Regions from separate parts of the Homo sapiens genome. Here all the other regions are linked to region 2. Evidence: promoter capture Hi-C in 16 types of primary human blood cells and fetal thymus (Javierre and others, 2016). All regions are on one chromosome and are shown on one strand. Each heading gives the region's core, a stretch centred on a gene start or on the middle of the fragment in contact. The rest is flanking DNA. Distances are from core to core; before and after follow the strand shown.

Region 1 (3,618 bases), core at 410-2,909, 280 kb before region 2:
GATGGGAATGCGGTGGTGCCCAGGCAGGGGTGGCCACAACCCTGAAGCCTCAGAAGGGGTGTTACAATGTGGTAATTAGCTCTTTTAGTCCCACTATCTGCAGCCTGACTGATGGTGGTGTATTAACAGCCCAGTTAGCTCCTAGCCCCACTCTGGCCTGTGGCTCCAGAGCTGGGGCTTGGCCCTGATGTTGCTTCCTGTTGCATGGGGTGGCTGCCCTCCACTGGCAGAGGGCAAAGGGCCACAGTATTAACAGCCTTTTGATTACTTGCATTCGGTGGGTCCTGAGTTCTTGCCCCACATCCAAGAAGAATGAGGTCATACTGACAATTGAAGGGTGATGAGGTTGGAGAATTATACTGAGCAGTGAAACAGCTCTCAATGGAGAGGGGACAGGAAAGTAGTCTCTAACCCTAAGTCAGGTCATCTATCACCCTAAGTCAGGTTGTCTCTGCCAGTGTGGCTGAGTCTGAGGTTTTTATAGGCACAGGATGGGAGAGGGACAGACCATAGGCAGTATTGGAAAAGGCAACATTTGGTTGGTTAAAAAGCATTATTCAGAAAGAATCAATGGGGAAAGGGTGGGCAAACATGAACAGAGGTTCTCACTCTGAATCACGGCTTTCATCCAGAACCAGCAGTGTGGTCTTTCAGCCTTCAGGCTGTTTTTGGCTTGAAGGTGGCATTTCATCAGGGATTCGCCCCTATGTACCTAGGCATTTATCTGCCTCTTGTCATTATCAATATCTTCCATTCAACCAAATATTAGCACCTACTATGTGTCAGGTTTTATTCTAGGCACTTGGGATACATCAGTAAACAGAATAGACAAAATTCCTTGACCTCTTGGAGTTTACATTCAACAGAAGAAGACAGACAATATATTTAAATGTGTAACTAGATTCTTATAGAGTATGTGAGAAGATGATAAGGATTATGGATAGGAAATTGAGCAAAGTAAGATAGTCTGGGAATGCTGGAGGAAGACTTGCGTTTCAAAATGAAGCAGTCAGAGTAGGTCTCATTGAAAAGGTGATGTATAAGCCACAAAATTGAAGGGAGGAATTGAGCCATAACAGTATCTCGGGGAAAGTTCCAGGTGAATGGGATGGCCAGAGCAATGTCCCTGGAGCCAAATCCTGACCACACCTTTGGGGACATCAGGGAGGTCAATGTGGCTGGAAGGGGGTAAGGAGCGAGGCGGGGAAAGTAGGAAAGGGTGAGGTCAGAGCTGTAATTGGAGGGAGTGGGAAGCCATGTCCTGTGGACACTGCAAGCCATCATAAACACTTTGGATTTCACTCTGAGAAGAATAGGGAGCCACTGAACAGAAGAGAGACATGTTTCTATATGCCAGTGTGACGTGTGTTTGAAATTGATTCTTTTGTAAGCCATTTCTGAACTGCTCCTTATTATCTGGTATACTGGGCCATGACTGTAACTCTTGGGAGGGATTTACTGAAATGAGTCCAAGTGTTTCTTCTCACTGGGCTGTCAGTAATTTCTTTTCCTTGTCAAATGAGTGTTTAATCAAATAGTTTAGGACCAATTGTTTTTATCTAGGAAGTTGCTGAGCAGAGCCTCCTCCCTTTGCCTAGTACATCTAGAAGTGTGAGTGTGCAGGTGACCCCTCAGGGGTGTGGTTCAGACTTGACTATATGTCACCCAGTTTGGATCTAGTAAGACATTTCACATTCTCCAGTTGGCTCCCTGCTTGTGATACCCTGCTATAGAGGATACAGCAATAAAACATCTCTCTTAAACTTGATAGTACATATTGTGAGTTCAACAAGTGTGCCCTGTGCCTCTCCACTCTGCCAGCATTCCTTTCCAGGGCAGTGATGAGGTCCATGTCAGAGATAGTGTCCTGCACACCTTTCAGTGCACAGATATTCCCAAGGCCAGACCTTGCAGTCTTGTCATTGGCTCTTCTAAGCCCGTGTTGTTTTTTTCTACCCAGTAATGTGCTGGTGCCCATTTCTGCATTCTCGGGCACACTGTTCTCAGCAAATCATTCTGGTGCCATTCAAGTGGCTTCAAAGCCGTAGTCGCCAGTAGGTGCCCTCTTAGCAGGTGGCCTGGTGGTGCCATGATTGTCAGACACACTCTTGTCTCCATTCAGAGAAGACTTTAATATAAAGAATTGGGCATCTAAGGAGATTGTGTTAAAAACTAATGCTAAGTTTGCAAATTCATAAGGAAGTTTGCCAGTGAATTCTCCTAGCACTTAATAAAATTGGTGCTCCATTTGGTACATTCAGTTGTGAAGACCCACCTGTCTTCCACAGTATAGCTCAGCTCTCAAAGTCGTCGTCACAGTTTTCTCCTCAATGTAGCTCTGGGATTCCAGTAACTGGCCTGGTACTTGCTGGTAAATTTGTACCATTTTAACAGTCAAGCAGTCCCTCTGAAGGGGTGTTCTTTGCCCAGGTCTAGAATGATAATCTTGATTCAACTCCTAGCTTAGTATTGCTCTCCAATCCCAAATTCCAGACAGGCATCTAATTCCCGAGTGTACCCATAATAAGATCAAGCATCTTTATGGTTCCAATCTCAGGACATAGTTGTTTTCAATTTATATACAAAAGATAATTGAAAATCAATTTAGAATTTATGCCATTTTTTAAGAAAATGTAGAGAGGAGATGGAATTACTTTAAAGCAAAAGAAAATTTGTAAGTATTATTTTTCTGCTCTCTGGCACAATCGGTCACATGGCATCTTTCTCAAAAAATTTCTCGTCTATTTTTAACTCTCCTGGGTTGATTGGTAGGAGGGTAAGTGCTTTGGATACTTTTTTTGTTTCTATTTTATTTCAAGTACCGTATGGAGGTTTTGGAGTTATTTAACATAGACATAAAAACATTTCCAAATCTAGAATATGTTTGGATATGTCTGATATGTCTGTTCATGTTTCCTATATATTCTCTTATTATCTTAAAAGGATAATTTTCTGGAAATCCAAGAATCATGTACAGGAAAAAAATTAATCTTTTAAAAATAGTTTTCACACCCATCTCTGTGTGTGGAATATTATGGGGAAGAAAGAACTTGAAAAAAAATTTAAAGTTTTTCTGTTTAAATTATTTTAGCTTGGTGTGTCATTTTTTTTAAAAAAAAAGAATTAGTTTTTTAAAAGACTACTCTTTATAATTACATTGTAGGTTAATATAATTATCAACTTTTCCAGGGAAGAAAAGGATAATCTCCTGAGGCCCAAGCAAAAATGGTAACATTGACCTCTGAATTCAGCTTTAAATATGTTGCTTCTGATGACCATTCATAGAACCAAAAATGTGAACTGTGGAAGGTAAAGAAATACATATGTCTAGGGAATGGATGAGGAAACAATGTCTGGCTTAGATTTGTAGACTTCTCAAAGGAGATCTCCGTAAACTCTTCCAAAGACACTTTAAACCTAACAGCTCAGAACCATATGAATCAAGCACAGACACCAGGATGACTAATCATTCCTCCTCTTTTTTCCTCTTTTAACAAAACATGGTTACCTTTACCATAGTAATTTTCGCATTGCATTATATATCTATGTGCCTTATCCCGTCAGCTCCTTATGGCAGGAAATATCCCCCCTTATCCCGTCAGCTGCTTATGGCAGGAA
Region 2 (4,088 bases), core at 266-2,765:
ACCATGTTAGGCGGGATGGTCTCGATCTCCTGACCTCGTGATCTGCCTGCCTCGGCCTCCCAAAGTGCTGGGATTACAAGCGTAAGCCAACACACCCGGCCTGTGTGGATTGTCTTTTTACTGATGAGAGTATTCTTTGATGCACAAAGGTTTTTTATTCTGATGCAGCCGAATTGTCTATTTTTTCCTTGTCGTTTTGGTGTCATGTCCAAGAAATCACTGCCAAATCCAATGTCGTGAAGCGATTCTTCTAAGTTTTCTTCTAAGAGTTTTATAGTTTAAGACCTTACAGTTACATCTTTGATCAATTTTGAGATAATTTTGTATATGATGTTTTTAGGTAAAGGTCCAACTGCATTTTTTTCCGCATATGGACATTTAGTTTCCCCAGCATCATTTGTTGAAAATAAATTGTTAAGGTCACTATAGTCTTGTAGTAAGTTCTGAAATCAAGAAGTGTGAGTACTCCAACTTTGTTCTTTAATTTCAAGATTGTTTTGGCTATTTATGACCCCTTGGGGTTCCTTGTTAATTTCAGGATGGAATTCTGCCATTTCTTAGCATAAAACTTTTCAGTGGAGGTCAGTTGCTTTTGACATCCAAACTCCTGCCCTTTTATAGGGTCCTTTAAGATATATCACCTGCTTATCACCTCAGCTTCTTCTCTAGACTGGCTCCAATCCCCTTTATCCAAACCTACTCATCGACCTCTCAGAACCATTTTCACTGCTTCCAATAGCTATGCTCTCTTGTCTCAGGCCTTTGTATGTGACCTGCTTTTTGCCCGGCATTCTTTGCCTGGCATTTCTTCTTCCTTCACATTTCAGCTTCCACATCCCTTCCATGCCCTCCATGAGAAAATTAGTTGGTGCTTTATGTTCTCACTGAGGACTGCCATTCTTAGCACCGTCTCCACTACACGGTAAGTGCTTGGCTTGGACACCCCCCAGCCTGTGGCGAATGGATGTCTTGGTCACATTTGTGCTTAGCACACCACTTTTCATGTAGTAAACCATCTGTGAATGTTGGTTTCAAGAATTGTTGGAAGGTTCCTTTACTGGTATTCTTCCAAAGGATAGTTTTCTGGAGTGTGGGAAGAGTCAACAGCACAGGGGTTGGAAGCACATGAATAATGAAAGGTGTTTACTGGATCCTGCCTCGCATTACTCCACTCGCCCACATTAGCAATGAAATCTGTAATCATTTCATTCCAGTGTTTCTCCGAGACCTCTGAGGGGTTAAGGCAGCAGTCCTGGGCATCCGGCTTATTTAGAAGGAGGGTGCGGAAGTGTGAGGATCTACTTCAGTAATCAGAGGATATTGGAGGAGACCCACCCAGTGTCTTTGGTTATTCAACGCACACCTTAGACCTCACAACACTGGCAGCAGCGCCCCAGAAAGCTCCTCTTGCGGGACCGCGCGCCAGCTTCCGGGTCCAGCCCCAGAAGGAACAGATGACCGGAAATGGAACCTGCGCGGGCCCGTTGCTTAGCAACAAACGCTGCCCGGACGCTAGACGGCTCTGGTGCGGAGGGAGCTGAGACCGCTGCAAGTCCCGGGGCCCTGCCTCTATCGTCCTAGGGGTTCCGCGGGCAGGAGCAACCCAGAAGCACCGGTGAGGCCAGCGCGTCCTCGCAGCCATGAGCAGTGAGCAGGTGAGAGGGCTGCTCTTTGCCAGGCTCGCCGCCGCCGCGACGCTTCCCAGGCGTTTCGGAAGTGGTGGAAGCCCCTCCTGCCTAGCGAACTCCCCAGCTGTGACTCCGCGGTGTACAGCTTCCTTCACCCCACTTGTGGCCTGGGTTACTGAGCGCTTTCCGTGAATGCCCTTATAAGTTCCCTTCCCAGCTGTTTGCCCTTGGTCGTCATAACAACCAAACCTAGCCGCCTAGCGGCGCGCCAGCAGGGGGAGCCACAGCCCAGAGCACCCCCAGAGTGCTAATGGCGGTGTGCTTGGGTGAGAGGCGGCTCTGCGAGGAGTTGCAGCGGGTTTGGGTTCTAAGGTGGGAATCGAAGCCAACTCCTAGCCATGTGACTTTGGACAAATCTCTTAGTCTTTGTAAGCCTTAGTTCTCCCACCTCTTATGCAGAGCGGGGGAAACATCAGAACAACTTTTCTTCTTTTTGAGGTTGTTGTCAATTTCAAATTAGATACCATGCCATACCATAACTATACAATATTATACTATACATGAAAGGCCTTGGTAAGTGACATATGGCACTTCTTAAGATGATATTCCATGGTATGTGATAAAAGATGCACTTTGCAATAGCTGCTTTTCTTTCTCTTTTTTTCTCGTTTTTTTCCTTTCTGTCTTTCTCTCCTTTTTCTTCTAAGAATTCTTTCTTTATTGAACTTAAGAGCAACTAACAGAAAGGCAGAACAATGGTCAGTCGTCTTAATATCAGCACAGAATGGGAAGATATTAAACGTGGTCATTATTCTGGCTAGCTAGAAAATAACTCTAGCTTTCTACGTAGTGATGAATAAGGAAAAGGACTCTATAAACCTCCTGGAAGAAAAACAGTTGTTTTTAAGCCTGCAAATTTCATTTAGCTTTTAAACAATATTAAACGGTAATTATTTCTTTTTTATTGCTTTATAATGCTTTTTTCGGTAGTGTTAGAATTTATTGTGGAAACAGTATTAAAACGGATTTAGTCTCCTATCCATTGAGTTGTACATTACTAACAGAACTATGTGAAGATCCTGATTGGTTAGTTCATCAAATAAGTAATTAATACCTGAAATGCTCAAGAAAATTTGGTTTGAACCTTTTTAAAAAAATAAGTATAATTTAAGAACTAAGAAATGGACACTGATTCATATGCTAAAGTATAATTAGTATTGGTATTAATAATAAAAGAGTAAATGACAAGCAAAAAACAAAAAGTTCAGATACAAGTAACCAAAAACACTGAGCAATTGTTTAATAGATCTTACTAGTTTTTTTCTACATGATATTAATGTAATCAGATTTAAAAAATAACATTTGTTACTGTCACCATTATTATATATTGAGCAGCTTCTTTGCTTGTTGCCCAAGTTAGTCTTCGGCCAGATCTTGAACCATATCCTACGTTGTTAGAGTTTAAAATACACTTTTACCACATTTCCAATGGTATTTCTCAATAGCTGTTTTTCACAATTCCCCTAACTTACCCATCTACAACTAAAAAGTATCCACAAAAAACCCACCAGCCGTTAAGTTCTAAATTTTGCTTCATCTTTATAAAAGTGATGTTGGGAAATGACACCCTAGTCTCTCACTCCCCCTCCAGAAAGGTTGTGATTTATTGAAGAGGCAGCGGGATCTTAAAAGAATGGACATGATTTCCATTTTCCACTTACTATTTTTGAACAGCAGAGGGCCCTCTATCACTGTTTTGGTTGATTTGTAATTTAAAAACTAATCTTGAGAATTTCATTTATGCTAATTTAGAGTGTAGCTTTCCTTTGGAAGGATGAAAGTTTTTATGTTTTAACCTAAAACAAACAGAATGGATTAAACTTCTGGAAATGCCATTTTTTATGTGACATTTACTTGTATATTCATTCAGTTTGAGAAAGTGAGCAGGTGGTAAAATCGTATTTGCTGAAGGAGATTTTAACATATTCATCTCATTAGTGGAAGGTTGAGAGTGACATGGAATTTTTCAGGAATAGCAGTCTGGGCTTTTCTCTTAAATTAGGCATTTAGAAGAAATGTAAATCTTTTGCAATTGCTCATTTCATTTTTAAAATGAGTTAAAACTTTAAAAGGCATTTTTAGTATCAGTTGAAAAACTTTGAGAGGTTTAAAGGCACAAATATCCGAAGACCAGGAAGCTCCCCACAGATATACTACAGATTGTGGGCAGAGAAGAGGAAAAAGCTGTCAGTCTTTTTCTACCCCAGCACTTTTTCTAGTTATGGAATCAAGTAATTTGTGTTTATATGATGTGATGCTCATTCCATTTTCCTTCATCATGTTTTTGAAATGTCATTGCTTAAAAAGGGGAAAGAATGAAAAAAGTTGGATATGAGACCAACAGCATGGTGATAACTTTAACAACCAGAACTCAAACGTGTGACAACTGACAACTATATT
Region 3 (4,202 bases), core at 406-2,905, 390 kb before region 2:
TTAACTATGGCGGCATTAGCATGATCCAGGGTGGAATTTTCGGATCTCTGACTTCAAAAGATGAAGCAGAGGATGCAAAACCCCTCCCTGCACATCCTCCGTGGACTGGCCAGAACCACTCTGTGGTCTGTGGTCTCTTATCAAGAAGGAATGCTGGTTGGTTATTTTGTTGAAAACCACAAAAAGGAGGGGCGGTTTCAGGAGGTTGATTGACATCAGGGGTGGAGTGGGGCTTTCCAAAGGGCTGGTTTCTGTTTAATCCTTACGGAGGAAATCCTAATGTTGGTTATGGAGGGAGGGGACATCATGAGGCACGTCTGACCTCCTGTCTGGTCATGGTTGGGAACTGAGTTTTCAAGGATTTCTGGGGTCCCCTTGGCTAACAGGGGGTCTGTTCAGTAGGTTGGGGGGGCTTAGGATTTCATCTTTATTTTTTACTGTATCTATACAACCTAATTTTTAAACCACTCTCCAGTACTCTCCTTTATACTCAAATACTCTAACCTGTACTTTTCCCCCCTTTAACTGTTTTCTTCTCCTCATGCTAAGGCTCATTGGAGTTTCTAAGCCCACTTCTGTATTTCTCATAGTCTACATCTCCCATCTCTCTTCAGCTAAGTCTTCTCAAGCTTTAAGACTCAGCTCAGTGTTACTGCCTCAAAGATGCCTTCCCTGTCTAATCTGATCCGAAGTGGTACTCCTTTTCTGGAAATTTCTCCATCACTTATGTGCAGAATTTAACATTTAATTATACGTATAGTCTTGTGGTGTTTCTTGTGCTGATTTGTTTGTTTGTTTTTTTAGCATTATCTCTCCCAGCTGGACTACTCAGAGAACTACTAGAGAACATGGACCAAATCATTCCTTATTCTGTAAATCCTGCAGTACCTAACATGGAACTGGACATATAATAAATCCTTAATAAACAACTAGTAGTTAATTAGTCATGTGAACATATGAGTTTTAGCCAGTGTGTTTACACTTATCTTTTTTGTTGTTGTTGTTGTTGAGACAGAGTCTTACTCTCTTGCCAGGCTGGAGTGTAGTAGTGCAATCTCGGCTCACTGCAACCTCCTCCTCCTGGGTTCAAGTCATTCTCCTGCCTCAGCCTGCTGAGTAGCTGGAACTACAGGTGCACACCACCACGCCCAGCTAATTTTTGTATTTTTAGTAGAGACGGGGTTTCACCATGTTGGCCATGATGGTCTCGATCTCTTGACCTCGTGATCCACCCGCCTCGGGCTCCCAAAGTGCTGGGATTACAGGTGTGAGCCACCACGCCCAGCCTACACTTGTCATCTTTATCATCTGGTTTCACAGTTTTCCATCTGGAGCTTTTTAGAGTCTTGTATGATTTGCCTCAGTACTAGTAATGCGAAGTCACATATTTTCATCCCCTTGGGGTGTGTGTATGTGTGTGTGTGTGTGTGTGTGTGAGTGAGTGAGAGGGAGAGAGAGAAACAGTTAAGATCCAGAGACTCCCAGCATTATGAGACCTTTCCTTTTCAGAGCCTGGATATTTCAGGTGTAGAATTTAATAGAATTGGTAGAGTGCACAGGAAAGAGATAGTTCCCAATATTTTACTTTTTTAATAATTCTTAGAGACAGGGTTTTGCTCTGTCACTTAGGGATGGAGTGCAGTGGCACAATCATGGCTCACTGCAGCCTTGACCTCCTGGGCTCAAGTGATCCTCCTGCCTCAGCCTCCTAAGTAGCTGAGACAATAGGCATGTGCTGCCACACCCAGCTAATTTTTTAATTTTTTGTAGAGATGGGGTCTCACTATGTTACCCAGGCTGGTCTCGAACTCCTGGGCTCAAGCAGTTCTCCCACCTCAGCCTCCCAAAGTGTTGGGATTACAGATGTGAGCCACTGTGTCCAGCCAGTTCCCAGTATTGTAGAGTATGGTGACTTTTAAGAATTGTGGCTATTATCCCTTTTGATTATTTGTTTAGATCAAATACCATAATGCTTTATTGATAAATACTTTGGCATATTTGGACATACTTCCTAAGTATAGCGTGCTTGTGTATATAATGCTTTTCAGGTTTTGTGTAGTAGCGGGTATGAGTATGCTCTGAGAAAAAGAAGAATAGAAGTGAAAGACCTGGTTATACTTATTTTTAAATGAATCACAGACTTACAAAATTTGTAGAGCTAAGAGGTATCTTGGAAATCATATAGTCCCGCTCCTTCATTTTTAGGGTCGGGAATATAAAGGACCAGTGTGGTTGACTTACATAAGGTCACAGTAGTAGTAAGGAATAGCACAGTACTGTGAATAGGCTGAGATAATCAATTTATATTATTTCTGGATTTTCTGACCCAGTTTGAGGAAAGTATTGTGTATTTGAGAAACTCACACATTCTTAAAAAGTAATTTTTTAAACAGCTTTTCAAAAGATCTTTCATATGCTAAAATATTGAACAACATGCTTGGAGTATAGTTAAGAGGTGACAGTACCATGTAGTGGGCAGGTAGTTAAGAAATCTACATCCTAATTCCAGCTCTGGTACTTACAACCTTGGAAAAAGTCGTCCAGAATGAAGAAAGTCAGTTTGTATTATTCAAAATGAATGGATCAGGCGAGATTCTCTCTGAGGGCCCTTTTAGTTCAAAAATTCTGTGTAAAAGTGAAGCAGTTGTAAGCCATTGAAACTTGATGTGATCAAAGCTTTATGACATCAGAGCAGAGACATATGTGTAGTATCTCTCCAAAACGTATCAGCAGCTCAACATATAGAATTTCATATCTTGATTCCATGCCGTACCTACTCATTAGGCACTGTTGATTCTTTCCAGATACTTTCTATTTCTTAGGCTTAATTTGGATGCTCCTTCTTTGCTTGAAGCTTGGTACAGGAATATGAATACCAGGAATAGATATATATGAAGCAATAAACTTATTTGATAGTCTTTTGGCTCTTCCAAATGAATAGTTCACACATGTGTTAGATGTGTTGGTGTATTAAAGAATGAAGAAAACCCGAGGTTGCTTAAATTTGTAGCATCTTTTACTGTAAGGTACTATAACTGCTCTGTGGGCTAGTTTTGTTGAATTGGTATGTTTTGCTTGATCAATTTCCCTTATTTGATATTCTGGAAAATCTGTAAAAAAGTAAATCCGGAGTTTCTTAGCCAGCCTTACTCTAATTCAAGGAAAGTGTCCCATAAGAGCAGTAAAAAAGAAGACCATCTGGACCCACTTCAGTGTCATTGTACCTTGTCCCCTATCACTGATGCTAGTATATGGTTACTCTTATTTGCTGATTGCAGTGGTCTCCAAGTAATCAATCTGTGACCAGCCTAAGCTCAGACCATGTTTGCAGTGAAGCTTCCCCAACCTTTCTCCAGAAGACATATGGTCAGTCCCAAGGAGCCATTTACAATCCATATACAGAAAGTGCTTATGGAAGATTGTGTAGCAAGGGCAATGTGAAGCCAGTAGTGTGGCAATACTTTCCTTGCTGGGATAAGGTAAATCAGTGATAGGAGATAATGTATATAAGGCTCATAGCTTAGAGTCTGGCTCATTTATAAATGTTCAGTAAATATGTTCTTATTCTGCTTTACAATTTTGCCTTTGGACTTACAACCCTCAAGCAATCATGTATTTTGTTAAGGCTTGGGAAATCTTCTAGAATATTTGACTTAGTGTAGAGTTTTGATATAGTGTCCTTTCTTCTGTTGTTTAACTTAAAGAAGAGCTTAAATGTTTTGTGACTTCAGTATTCCTCATTTTGGGGCTTAGCAATTTAGGGGCATGATTTATATTAAAGACCTTCATATCTAGAAATAATTTATATGCCTTCTCAGGGTGTGGGAGTATAGGGGTATGAATTGTGAAAAATTGAGTCTCCTTTCCAAATGTATATGCTGTTTTAGGTCGAAAACACAAGAAGTCAAGAATACTAGATGAAAATGTTATCCTTAAAGTTAAAGGGCTCAATATTTTTTATTGCAAATGGTGTTCTAATTTTTTCTGTTATTTATATCATATATATTATTTAACAAAATAATTGATTTTGGGTTATTGTACAAACTGCATTATTGTCTGAATTTCTTTTGTCTTGCAAATTAATTTGCAAGAATAAAATAATTTTCTATTTTATCCTTTGTATTTCCAGTGTTAAAAATTACTGTGGTCTTTATTAAAAGTATGTGTTCAATTTAGTTAAAAAAGATTGTTTTAATGTAAAA
Region 4 (3,929 bases), core at 527-3,026, 380 kb after region 2:
AGGTAACATAACAACAAAGAATAAGAATCTTTTCAGAAGCCTTCAAAATAAGAAAAAAAAGCTATTAGTTTTAACTTTAGATCAATCTTGTCAGTCTCCATTTTTCTCTGTAAGGAACAAATAAATCTATTTTATTTTTAATTAAGTTTAATCTCAGACCTAGCTTCCCCTTTCTCCTGCCACAGTGAGAATTTACAGGCACCTGAGAGGGACTAGGCCTCTCAGGGCGCTTATTCATCCACCAAGATCAATAAGCATGAAGTCAAGAAAGAGGACAAATTTATCTATTCGAAGATCAGAATTCAAATCCAGTTCAAAGCCCCACTTTCTCTCCTTTTACTCATCTTACCAGAGAGCCCCACTTGTTTACCAAGAAGACCATTCTTGGATTTTGTTTTAAACCACCAACTTATCTATACTTAAAACAATACTTGCAAATCTGTCAAAATACTACTAAAAATAATTCTATAAAACTGGCCTCATTTCTCTGCCACTTATATTCTAGCAAAGCACTCTCCAAAACCTTTTCAGGAGGAAACAGTAGAACAGGAAGTATAAGAATTACAGCACAGTGGTTATGATTATATGTTGTAGAAGGAGAATACTATAGTTCATAGCATGGCTCTGCTACCTGGCAGCAGTTTGTGTGACCTTGGGCAAGTTACCTGACTTATTCTCTAAGCCTCCTTTTCCTCACCAAATGAAAGTAAACAGAAGTGCCTGTATAGTGGGTTTAATAAATTAAAAGAAATATCCTTGTAAAAATGTTTAGTACAGCACATGGTAAAGTCCCAATAAACATAGGTTTTTGTTTTGTTTTGTTTTGAGACGGAGTCTCACTCTGTTGCCAGGCTGGAGTGCAGTGGCGTGATCTCAGCTCACTGCAACCTCTGCCTCTCAGGTTCAAGCAATTCTCCTGCCTCAGCCTCCCGAGTAGCTGGGACTACAGGCCGCACCACCATATCCAGCTAATTTTTTGTATTTTAGTAGAGAGCATAGGTTATTATAATTAATTTATCTAGTCTAAATTTATTTTCCTATTGCAAAGATATTAACCAGAAATAGAAATGTAGGTGCCTAGAAGACTTTACTTTTTATGTAATAATATTTCCTTTTACTTGTATCTCTATCTCAAATAAAATTCTTATACATTGGAATGGGATGTCTACCTTATTCCTATGCTATGAAATGTTTAAAAATTCTGTCCTCTCAATCCTTTATTATGCCAGAATTCAGTTTTAAGTCCATATTCATATACATCATTTTGCTCATTTTAATTACTATCCTCTAAAGCCACTCTGTCTTTGGCATTTCATCCAGAACTGTGTTCACAGTAATTCCGTCATAGTTTTTCATTACTTCATGGTAAAAAAGTTCATGAAAATCCAACTAATTTTGAGAACATTCATTATCGAAGTATACCAGGCTGACTGATACATTCACATAATGATCTTCAAAGACACATTTCAACAAGTATCTTTCCTGGATTATAACTGAACGCTTATAGACTAATATTAAGCAATTGTATTCATTCAATCAACATAAGAGCTTAAATGGTTTAGTCACTGTATTAAAGCAACTAAAGTCCAACAAAAACAGATTAATTCAATTATTAAGATCCCCCAAGATCTATACTATGAGGGAGACATCTAGAGATGTCAAGGAAGGGAACATAATTTAGCCTAGGATGGTCACTAAGTTTACCCAGAAGGGCCAATACTTGATCTGAATCTTTGAAGAATCGTAGTCGTCAGTCAGGCATGGGGGTTTAGAAAGTGAAGAGGGAGAAAGGGATGGGAGAAAAATGGCACAATCTATTATCAGTAGTTTATTATGGTTAGAACTGAGAAAAGAGGAGAGAAATGAATGATGAGCGTTAAGAATGTCAAGGCAGGCAGGGAGGATCATATTACGGAAAGCCTTGTGGGCCAAGTAAAGGGCTCTGAACAATATAGCATGATGCAGTTTCCTAAAATGTATGAGAAAAAAATATAACTAGCACATCACATCAAATCCATGTTCCAGAGATATAAAAAATATATATTAGTGATAAAATACAAAGTATTAAATAGTGTAAAGATATATGGGAAAAATCACAAAGGTGATACCAGAACTAACTTAATTTGGAAGACAATGTCATAGGGATTAGATACTCAGAGGTTTCATCAGACAAACCTTAGGGTTTGTGGGCTCTGTCAGTTTCCTTATCTTGTTTTTAAAAACAAGGATCATAATATCTCCCTCATAGGATTACTGCCAAAATTTAGTGAAAAAAAAATGCATTTAAAACAACACATAAGATAGCAAAATGGTTACAGGACTAAATCCCAGTACTACCACTTATTAGCTCTGAGATATCAGAAAAGTTACTGGGAAGAGTAACATTACCTATCTCATAAAAGTGTTGTGAGGAGTAAATGAATTCAGCTTAGAACAGTGTCTGCGATATGTGTTTAAGTAAATAAGATTTAAAAAGTATGTATTAACAAAATGTTAGCTATCACTATAAAGAAAAAATTCTGTGTCAGAATCTCTTTGCATTTTAGAAAGGTAAATCTAGTTTAAGTGCTAAGAATGTCTTGCAAGGGGACAAGAACACAGGCAGGGAAGGTTATGAAGTTATTTCAACAATCCAATAACCAAGAAAATCCAGAATTGTTATGACAGAGTGGATGAAGTTAGAAGATACTGAAGAGATAGCTTTAACTGGACTTCATACCTGATTATAGAATGGGAAAAAAAGGAAAAGAAAAAAAAGAGAAAAAGAAAGTCAAAGAGTTCTAGATTTTATCAAAAGAATGAAATTAATGATATTTGGGATCCATTAAGGGGTACAAATTTTGTGTGGAGTATAAGTTTTGAAATATTAAGTGGGAGGTACCTGTGAACACCAAGGTGGAGCCAAGTGGGTACGATGAAAAAAGAGCCTAAGAGAAATTTAAAAATAGTTTTGGTTTTACCCTAGTTGAAGCTCTCTAGAAATACCCATAATAAAGTTCACATGTCAAGTTTGTTAGGCATTTCCCAGACATTCCTGGAGTTTACACACAGTAGCTTCCCTTTTTATGTCTTTAAAATTTTAATCATCTTTGCTTTTCAACAGAGGCACCCTGATAAATGTTAAGTAATTAGAAGAACAAATAACTTTATTTAGGGGGTCCCATTATTTATATTTGCTCATCAAAAATAATCAACTTATCACAAATCTATATTTCATTTTTAATCTAGTTCTCCGTCCATAGCAAAATATCCCTTTGTAATATACCAGAAGAGATAAATAAAACACATTGTGCCCCCGTCTTCCCCCAGTTTCTTTTAAATATGCATATCTAAACCTGATTAAAATATATTTAAAGTCTGACAACAAAAGAAAGTCAATAATTTAGGATTCTTTTCTAATTCAACTATAGTTTAAAAAGTAAGTACAGGTACTATTTTAAGGAGAAAAAACTTAAAATCTCTCTTACCTGATGCCCCTATATTTGCCTCATCTTCAGGAACCAGGTTTTTATCCTTATTTATATCTTCAACTAAAAGTTTGTCAAAATGCTCAATACAAAGTCTGCTGTCGATTTGATATAACAATGCAGGGCAAAGGTATGTAAATAAATCAGTTGAGATGGGAGAGTTGGCACCATGACCATAGTATTTTAATAACTGAGTGACGTTCAAACACTGCAAGGAAAGTGATAAAACAAATTAAATAAGAGTGTCTTTAAGGAGATTATGCAAAAAAATAAATTACTGCCTAAGAAATACTCTAAATATTACTTGCAAATAATCTGTAATACATAGATATCTATTACAAATAAAACTTTTTAATAAGAATTTGTAATAGGGATACACTCAACTATATTACCCAAAACTTTTCATGGACTTTAATAATTTTTCTACTCCAACACATGAAAGATAATGACTTTCTGTCATGG
Region 5 (3,763 bases), core at 1,131-3,630, 370 kb before region 2:
TGTTAGGAAAAGAAAAGAAAGAAATTGAAAAAAAAAAAAACCTTACTCTTTTTACTATTTAGCATACACTGCAGCTTTATGGTAGACATGTAGTAGTAGATGCTCCATACATTTTTGCAGGTGCAATTAAGCTAGCAGATTCACACATTTCTAGCTCTTTTTGTTCTTTCACTGAAAACAAATATGTATTATGTATTTGGTTTTTGGCCCTTAGTTGCGTGTCTTTTCTTGTTAGAATGCAGGCTTTTTTGAACTAGGGACTTTGACTTTTGCTCTGTTGTATCCTTAATGCTTTTCACTTAGGAGGAGCACAGTTATTTTTGCATGAACGATGAACCCACTACTGGTGATGAAGTTGAGTTTCAACTTTTTTTTTTTTTTTTTTTTTGAGATGGAGTCTCGCTCTGTCGCCCAGACTGGAGTCCAGTGGTGCAATCTCTGCTCACTGCAAGCTCCGCCTCCTGGGTTCATGCCATTCTCCTGCCTCAGCCTCCCGAGTAGCTGGGACTACAGGCACCCGCCACCACGCCTGGCTAATTTTTTCTATTTTGTAGTAGAGATGGGGTTTCACCATGTTAGCCAGGATGGTCTCAATCTCCTGACTTCATGATCCGCCTGCGTCGGCCTCCCAAAGTGCTGGGATTACAGGCGCGTGCCACCAGGCCCGGCTCGAAGACCAGGGAATGGCTCTTGTCAGTGTTATGGGGCCAAAGCTTGGGCTCTGAGATATCTGAGGTCCTCACTGCCTACAAGGCTCTTTTGTTTCTGTTAGGCGCTATGCTTTGAAATACTGAAGATGCTGATTAAGTAGAAGGGGTGGTGGGAATTATGGGAGTATTAAAACCAGTTCTTGATATAATTAAAGTAGAATGTAGTCACATAATGGTATTAATAACTAAACTTGACCAAGCACTTACTATATGCCAGACACTGTTTGAAATGTTTTATCTGTACTGATTTATTTAGTTCTCTCCAAAATCCTATGAGGCAGATGTTATGTTCTTCCTGGATAGGTGGGGAAACAGAGGGACAGAGAGTTAAAATAAATTGTCTAAGATCATAGAGTGATAGAAAGTAAAGATATAACCGAAATCCAGAAGTTGGGCTTCAGAGCTTTTTCTCTTAGCTGCTGTGCTAACCTGTCTCTCTGCTTAAATACAGATAATTTAAAAACAGTAATGTGGGCATACATACATGTTATTTCACTTTTTTCTAGAGAGGAATAATTGTCAGTATTTCTTCTGTTGTGATTTTAAGCTATAAGGGTTGTGGCCTATTTCTTTCTTTCAGGGAAGTAGTTTAGTTATATACAGCCTGCATTTTTTATTCAACTACAATGTGTTAGGAGTTGATTATTTATAGTTCTTGCTGAAGCTGATGTGCTGCATGACTCACTGAGTTTATAAAGAAATAATGGCCTGTTGAAAGTCAGTAAAATGAAATTTCTTGAAACTATCAGATTAGAAGTTGACCTGTATTTTAAGCTTCATAGATTGGAGATTTTCTAATAATTATGGATTCTTTTATGGTATCAGAGTTACCATAGACCACATACAGAAAATAAGTGCCAACTTTATGAAGAGAGATATGGGATTTAAAACCATTGAACTGAGTAAATCAGCTTATCTGTTCATTTTTATTTCTATCCTTTTCACAAAAGATATCTTGTCCAAGTTATTTTCATTCAAGAGATAGTGCTCAAAGTATGAGATCTACTTTATGGCAGAAACTATTTGAATAAATACATTTGCAAGTGCTATAAACCTAGCACAGGAGCATGTCCTCTTCATCCAAAGTGTCTGTGAACTCAATGGGAGGATGGGAGAAAAAACCCTATCTTCCCTTGCCCTCCTCTCAGACTCAGTAGCCAAGGTCGTTAGCTGTCATGTAAATATTGCACCCAAGGTTACTTTGTTTGTTTTTTAAATGAAAACTCATGCAGTGGGTGTTGAAATATATCATATGAGAAGTGGTAGTGTGAGTGGCAGAAAGTTTTTTCATAGACTTCCCAGGACCCAATAGGGTTTGCCCTGAGATGAAACATGGCATAATGAAGATGGTGGCAGGTACCAAGATTGCGGAATAAATGTGAAATCCATAAATTCATGAGTGGATTATGTAGTTCTGAAAGGGATGGTACAGAAGAAAATCAGATCAATTCTATGTAAAGCTAGTGAGATCCGAGTGAGGTAATGTAAACCCATGGCAAACAGGTAAGGCGCTGGTAGATAGAACCTTAGTTGTGCTGCGTTAAAGTACAGGAGGTACTGGAGTCTCTGTCTGTATCTGGAAGTATTTTATAACTAGACTCAGTGAGCCAAAAAGGGGCTGTCTAAGTTCCAACAGGGAAGGCCTTGTTCCTTTGGAACCAAAGGAAATAGCTTATCGGGAGCCAAAGGAAATAGCTTATCATGATCCAGATGGCCCAAATAATGTGGACCAGCCAGAAAGTCAGGATGGCAAGGGGCAGGCTCAGGAAAGGGACTGGAGATAAAAGTTATTTCAAGAAGTATCTAGGAGAAAGATGCTTACTCTTCCTGCATCTGTTATTTAACAAATATTTATCGACATGTACCGTGTAGCAGGCACTGTTGTAGACACTGGGGATAAAGTAGCCAACAAAACAGATGAAAATCCCTGCCTTTGTGAAACTTACATTCTTGTCAGGGGAAGTAGACAATAACCAAATAAATAAGTAAATTGTATGGTACGTTAGATCACAAAAATTGCTATAGAGAAAAATCAAGAAAGGAGGGATGGGGAATGCTGGGGTGCTGCAGTTTTAAATGTGATGGCCACTGTATTTAGGAGAAGAGGTAACATTTGAGCAAGCTCCTGAAAAGATTTCAGTGAGTTACATTCTTATGCTAAGGAAACTGAGCAAGTGAACTTGTACTTAATGGTGTACTTCAACTGTATTTAGCATGTGTCTCGCTATTTTAAAATTTCATTGCAGCAGCAAATAAATATGTGTGTGGGATGGAAAACGAGAAGAGGATGCCATGTTTGAACGTGGGGTGTTTGGGAAAGGATAGACCTAAAAGGGATGGCAAGGAAATCCTCTCCTCCTTGATTGCTAGGAGAAAGCTGTGCCAAGTGAAATCGAGGGTCGCAGGCATGTGACAGCCTTTGCCATCATGTGACTTGACTCTATAGAAGCTGTTTCTGACATCATCATTTAACAGTAGAATAATAGGTTTTATTTTGACAACAGAAGATTATTGCATGATCAGGCTTATTAAACACCCTTTAAGGCTTTATGTCTGGAAAGCTTAAATCTGATTCTTCGTATTGTAGCACTAATGTTTTATGTTTATCTGTCTCTTGCAGCTTTGTAGGCAGCCAATCCCAGAGAAGCAGACGGGATGGCTAGTTCAGCCCGGGAGCACCTGCTTTTTGTGAGGCGTCGAAATCCCCAGATGCGGTACACATTGAGCCCAGAGAACCTCCAGAGCCTTGCCGCCCAGAGCTCCATGCCAGAGAACATGACCCTGCAGCGGGCCAACAGCGACACCGACCTGGTGACTTCTGAGAGCCGCTCCAGCTTAACTGCCAGCATGTACGAGTACACGCTGGGGCAAGCCCAGAACCTCATTATCTTCTGGGACATTAAAGAGGAGGTGGACCCCAGTGATTGGATTGGACTTTATCATATAGGTGAGTCAAGTGGAATGGACTTGCATGTGACTCAGAGCATACAAGTTTTTAGTTTGACATTTTTACCATTCTGTATTTTCTTCTGGAAAAAAATTCACATGCACAT
Region 6 (3,769 bases), core at 356-2,855, 260 kb before region 2:
TAATCTAAACTTCAGAATTAAAATGTGGTTCTATTTCCCACATTTGGGTATATTCTGCCTTCAATTCTGTTGACTTCTTTTGACTTATTTTGCAGAGTAATATGAAGGTTTTTCTTCCTAATGTACCACAAATTGTGCATTAATTGTACATAATTTGAGAGAAAGGTCTAAATTTGCTAGGTGGTTTATAAATTACTGGCTTCTTGTGAGGTATAATTTACTCAAAAGCTTTCAGGAAAAGGTTATCAGTATAATAGCACTGCAAATTCTTATTATTGCTAATTATAGTAGCATGTGCCATGTACCTGCAGCACAATAGAACACAAGCCTACAAGGGAGATAGGACTCCATGTGGATTTTCAGAAATACTTGACGAGAGAGCATAATTCTGTATATATGGGTAGGTCTGATATGAATCAATTGTTTCGTTTATTCTAGGTTTTCCTAACAAATCTGAAGGAACTTGATGTTTGGTTTTTAACTAAAGAGAATGTTTAATATAGTAATAGTAATATATTTACTACAAATCAACTATATTCTTATCAAAGGGAAAAAAAGACATAGTTTGATTCATAGTTATTGGAAATTTTGAAGCTTATATATTTTTTATTTGTGGTAAAGATTAAATTTTAGTCTTTCCTCCAAGAATCAGCATTTGTGTCTCTGTTCCAAGATTGGGAAATGAAAGGACACATGATACAATACCCGTTTGATGCAAAAATCATTGCATTTAGGAACATACATGGTTTCCTAGTCAGATCCAGTGGCATCATATGCTTCTGAAACTTCAGATGCATGTTTTTTCTTTTCAGATGGGGGCAGAAGGCATGGAGGGAGGTGCTTCAGGAAACCTGCATTCTCGAAAACTTGTTAGCTTTACATTGTCAGGTAAGAATGTCTTTAAACGTGACATCCAGTTTGAAAGTGTACAGTTTCGAAGGTATGAATAGTCACTTCTTTCTGCAGACTTTCGTATATGATATGATGATATGTGAACTAGTTTTGGGGGGTCATACTTCTGAAAATTCAAGTATATCTCTTACCATGATAAATTAATTATTAATATAAATTCAGAAATTATTTCTTCTACCAAGTTTTCTGGCGATAGACAGTCTATATAACTATGTATAGTTACTTCAAGAAAAACTGTAACGTAATGTGCTAACCTCACTGAGGAGCTTTGATTATTGAAAATAATTTATTCTTACTTCAGCTAGAGAAAGAAAAAATTTGAAGACTGGAAAACAAAAGCCAATATACTTCTTTATCTGTGGAGGAATACACATGCAAATTGGAAAGTGGATAAGCCAATTATTTTTGGCTTGTTTTCTGATTAGTAAAATGTTCAAATTGCTTGTATGTTTACCATACAAGTAAAGCACGGCTTTTCAAGTTATGAGACAAGACTCATTTCCAGTTTGTAAGTTTGATTTAGTTAAAATCAGTAACTGAAAAAAAAAGAATAATGTCAGAGTTTACCACTAAAGGGATTTTTTTTGGGTAAAGCATCAATTTATATAAACTGAAAATTTTCATATACAATAATATACATCCCTATATTTATGTGTAGTAGGTTGCAATGTAAAATGTATTTCATACATAGGACACTGTTGAAAAAGTTTGAAGGGCACTGATTTTAGAAAATAAATTGGTAGTCATAAAGTCAAGAATAAGAAAATCCATATTTGAAATAGACTTTTAAAACAGATAACTATGCTACAATACATAGAAAATAAAGTCTAATGGATCTCCTTCACTGGAATATGTTTTGTTTTCATTTTTCTGTAGTTGTAGTACTTCCAAAATTTAAATTAGATCCACTTTTCTTGATTGCAAAAAACAAACAAACAAACAAAAAACGTGTTGTGAGAGTGAGCGTTAAAAGACCTGATCCTGAAACAGACTATTCCACAAAGCATAATTACCACATATGACTAAAGTGTACACATCAGTTCATTGCTGGCCCATGGCCTTCTGAGTATCTGTGCTTGGTTTTGCATGTTTCTCCTTTTCCCATATGAGCTTGCTTTTTTGCTTGGCTTCCCTGGTGAATTTCAGCAGCTGTAAACTAGTGACTTATGGTTCAAATTTGGCCAATAAATTTGTTTTGTTAGGAACCATCAGGGTTTAAAAAATATCTAGGTTTGCAGAAGGGCACTAAAAATAACCACTGCCTGTGGTACTATCTCCCTACCCCTCTTATCTGCCTGTTTCCTAAAAACATTTTGGCTGGACACCTGTGCTTTAAACCTTCACAGTATTGAGGGTCTGAAGCTACTAAAATCCCTGGTGACAGGCAGGAAACAATTTGTCGACCCTGATAGCTCAGAAAATTTAGAGTATGACCACACCATGGGTTTCTTGTTTTTGTTTTTTTAATTTACAGGTAAAAAAAATTTTTTTATGGTGTACAGCATGATGTTTTGATATAAACCATGGGTTTCTTAGTTTAAAATTATTACCCTATGCTTTTAGGTGATCCGTATCATTCTAAGCATGACACACACTTATTGGTTTTGACTCCAGATGGGATGTTATTAACTGACTATGTGAGAATGACCATCTGCAAGTTAAAAATCCTAGGGCATTTTCCTAAAAAGTAGGAAGTAAGCTTTGAGGCACAGCCAAATGCTTCTTCCTTACACATTTCTTCCAACATCGCACCTCTATTCACATGGAGGCTAGCTACCTAACATCTGTTTTATTTCTTACCATATAGCCAGACATTTGCAGACAGTGTACAGAAATGACTAGGAGCTGAAACCAATTCTATAATGTTAATTCTAAAAATTAATCTGGTTGTAGCATACTAACAGCAGATGATAATATTTATCTGAGAACATTTAAGCACTTTAGAATGGCTGCCTACAAATGTTCCACTCTTGATTATCTATGGATAGGTAGGGGCACAAATACTTGAATTTTATGGCTAAAATTAAAAATGTATTTTCATTAATATTTTAAACATGCTGCAAATAAGGCTTTATTTAGGATATTTAACACGTCAAACCTTTGTGACTTTGAGTCCTTCTTTGGCCTATTATATGGTGTGGATATTTGTGAGCAATAGCATATGTAAAAGACAAAAAAGAAAAGATCAGAAATGAGATGGATAAAGGGAACTGAATAATCAGATTAAAAATCACTGGTAGTTTATTGTATTTATTAAGGAAGATTTATTTGTACAATGTCCCATTGTGGAAAAATTTTGTATCAGGCTTATCTAACAGTGATATTATTTATCGCAGTGACTTAATTGTCTGGTGGAATGCTTTTTGTTCAAAGGAATATTTTTTGTGAATGATTTAGCTCTGTCAGACCTTGTGGCATTCATTTCTGTCTATGTTACTCTTTATTTACTACAAAGAGAACCCTTTTTTGGGCATAGATTTAATATATAAAGAATATCATTCTTCTGTCTGGGTTCAAGGGCAACATAATCAAGAAAGGCAAGAAAATGAATGTGGCAATTGCATTTTCTTCTCAAAGCTGTTCCCTGCTGAAGAAAGCCAAGTGAAAGTAGCATCATTAAACTGACAGTAAGATGCAAATTCTGCATTTAATAATGAGTACATAGTTTACGAAGTGTCAGGAATGGGGACTGCACGGCTAATGAGATTATGGCAGCCTCTCTGAAGTGCCTATCTAGTTCTTTACCCGTCTTTTCCTTCTCCTACTGGTTTTCAGATCAAAGATCTTGCTATATATTTCATGCAGTGTTCTCAATGTGCAGTGGCTCACGCCTGTAATCCCAGCACTTTGGGAGGCA

Evidence for each region. Contacts are between HindIII fragments. The CHiCAGO score rates a contact against its expected background, and 5 or more counts as called.
Region 1: a fragment that was not itself captured here is called in contact with the fragment with the promoter of DNAH7 in region 2 in 3 of 17 cell types (activated CD4 T cells, non-activated CD4 T cells and fetal thymus); the score reaches 7.8 in activated CD4 T cells.
Region 3: a contact is called between a fragment that was not itself captured here and the fragment with the promoter of DNAH7 in region 2, in 2 of 17 cell types (naive B cells and total B cells). The highest score is 5.3, in naive B cells.
Region 4: a contact is called between a fragment that was not itself captured here and the fragment with the promoter of DNAH7 in region 2, in 2 of 17 cell types (megakaryocytes and M1 macrophages). The highest score is 5.4, in megakaryocytes.
Region 5: a fragment that was not itself captured here is called in contact with the fragment with the promoter of DNAH7 in region 2 in 1 of 17 cell types (activated CD4 T cells); the score reaches 5.8 in activated CD4 T cells.
Region 6: a fragment that was not itself captured here is called in contact with the fragment with the promoter of DNAH7 in region 2 in 3 of 17 cell types (non-activated CD4 T cells, megakaryocytes and naive CD4 T cells); the score reaches 7.5 in non-activated CD4 T cells.

What each region holds. Positions count from the first base shown.
Region 1 is chr2:196,350,684-196,354,301 of GRCh38, reverse strand. All of the region lies in intron 2 of HECW2 (HECT, C2 and WW domain containing E3 ubiquitin protein ligase 2), which reads left to right. Among named protein-coding and RNA genes, the nearest start is that of HECW2-AS1, 92 kb to the right of the region's middle. The HindIII fragment of the contact is 6,415 bases long and covers 1-3,618 here.
Region 2 is chr2:196,066,264-196,070,351 of GRCh38, reverse strand. It overlaps DNAH7 (dynein axonemal heavy chain 7), which reads left to right and starts at 1,515. Exons shown (of 65, transcript NM_018897.3): 1 at 1,515-1,655. The coding sequence starts at 1,641. RefSeq lists enhancers at 1,604-1,693, 2,174-2,223. The HindIII fragment of the contact is 14,129 bases long and covers 1-4,088 here.
Region 3 is chr2:196,455,671-196,459,872 of GRCh38, reverse strand. All of the region lies in intron 1 of HECW2 (HECT, C2 and WW domain containing E3 ubiquitin protein ligase 2), which reads left to right. LOC105373821 (a long non-coding RNA gene) reads right to left here and starts at 2,612. Exons shown (of 5, transcript XR_007087827.1): 1 at 2,526-2,612. The HindIII fragment of the contact is 2,047 bases long and covers 632-2,678 here.
Region 4 is chr2:195,683,445-195,687,373 of GRCh38, reverse strand. SLC39A10 (solute carrier family 39 member 10) reads right to left here. Exons shown (of 10, transcript NM_020342.3): 3 at 3,468-3,675. Among named protein-coding and RNA genes, the nearest start is that of SLC39A10, 28 kb to the right of the region's middle. The HindIII fragment of the contact is 4,899 bases long and covers 1-3,929 here.
Region 5 is chr2:196,433,026-196,436,788 of GRCh38, reverse strand. It overlaps HECW2 (HECT, C2 and WW domain containing E3 ubiquitin protein ligase 2), which reads left to right. Exons shown (of 29, transcript NM_001348768.2): 2 at 3,331-3,657. The coding sequence starts at 3,366. LOC105373822 (a long non-coding RNA gene) reads right to left here. Exons shown (of 3, transcript XR_923746.4): 2 at 918-1,005. Among named protein-coding and RNA genes, the nearest start is that of HECW2, 160 kb to the left of the region's middle. The HindIII fragment of the contact is 1,787 bases long and covers 1,487-3,273 here.
Region 6 is chr2:196,326,694-196,330,462 of GRCh38, reverse strand. It overlaps HECW2 (HECT, C2 and WW domain containing E3 ubiquitin protein ligase 2), which reads left to right. Exons shown (of 29, transcript NM_001348768.2): 5 at 813-888. Among named protein-coding and RNA genes, the nearest start is that of HECW2-AS1, 69 kb to the right of the region's middle. The HindIII fragment of the contact is 2,017 bases long and covers 597-2,613 here.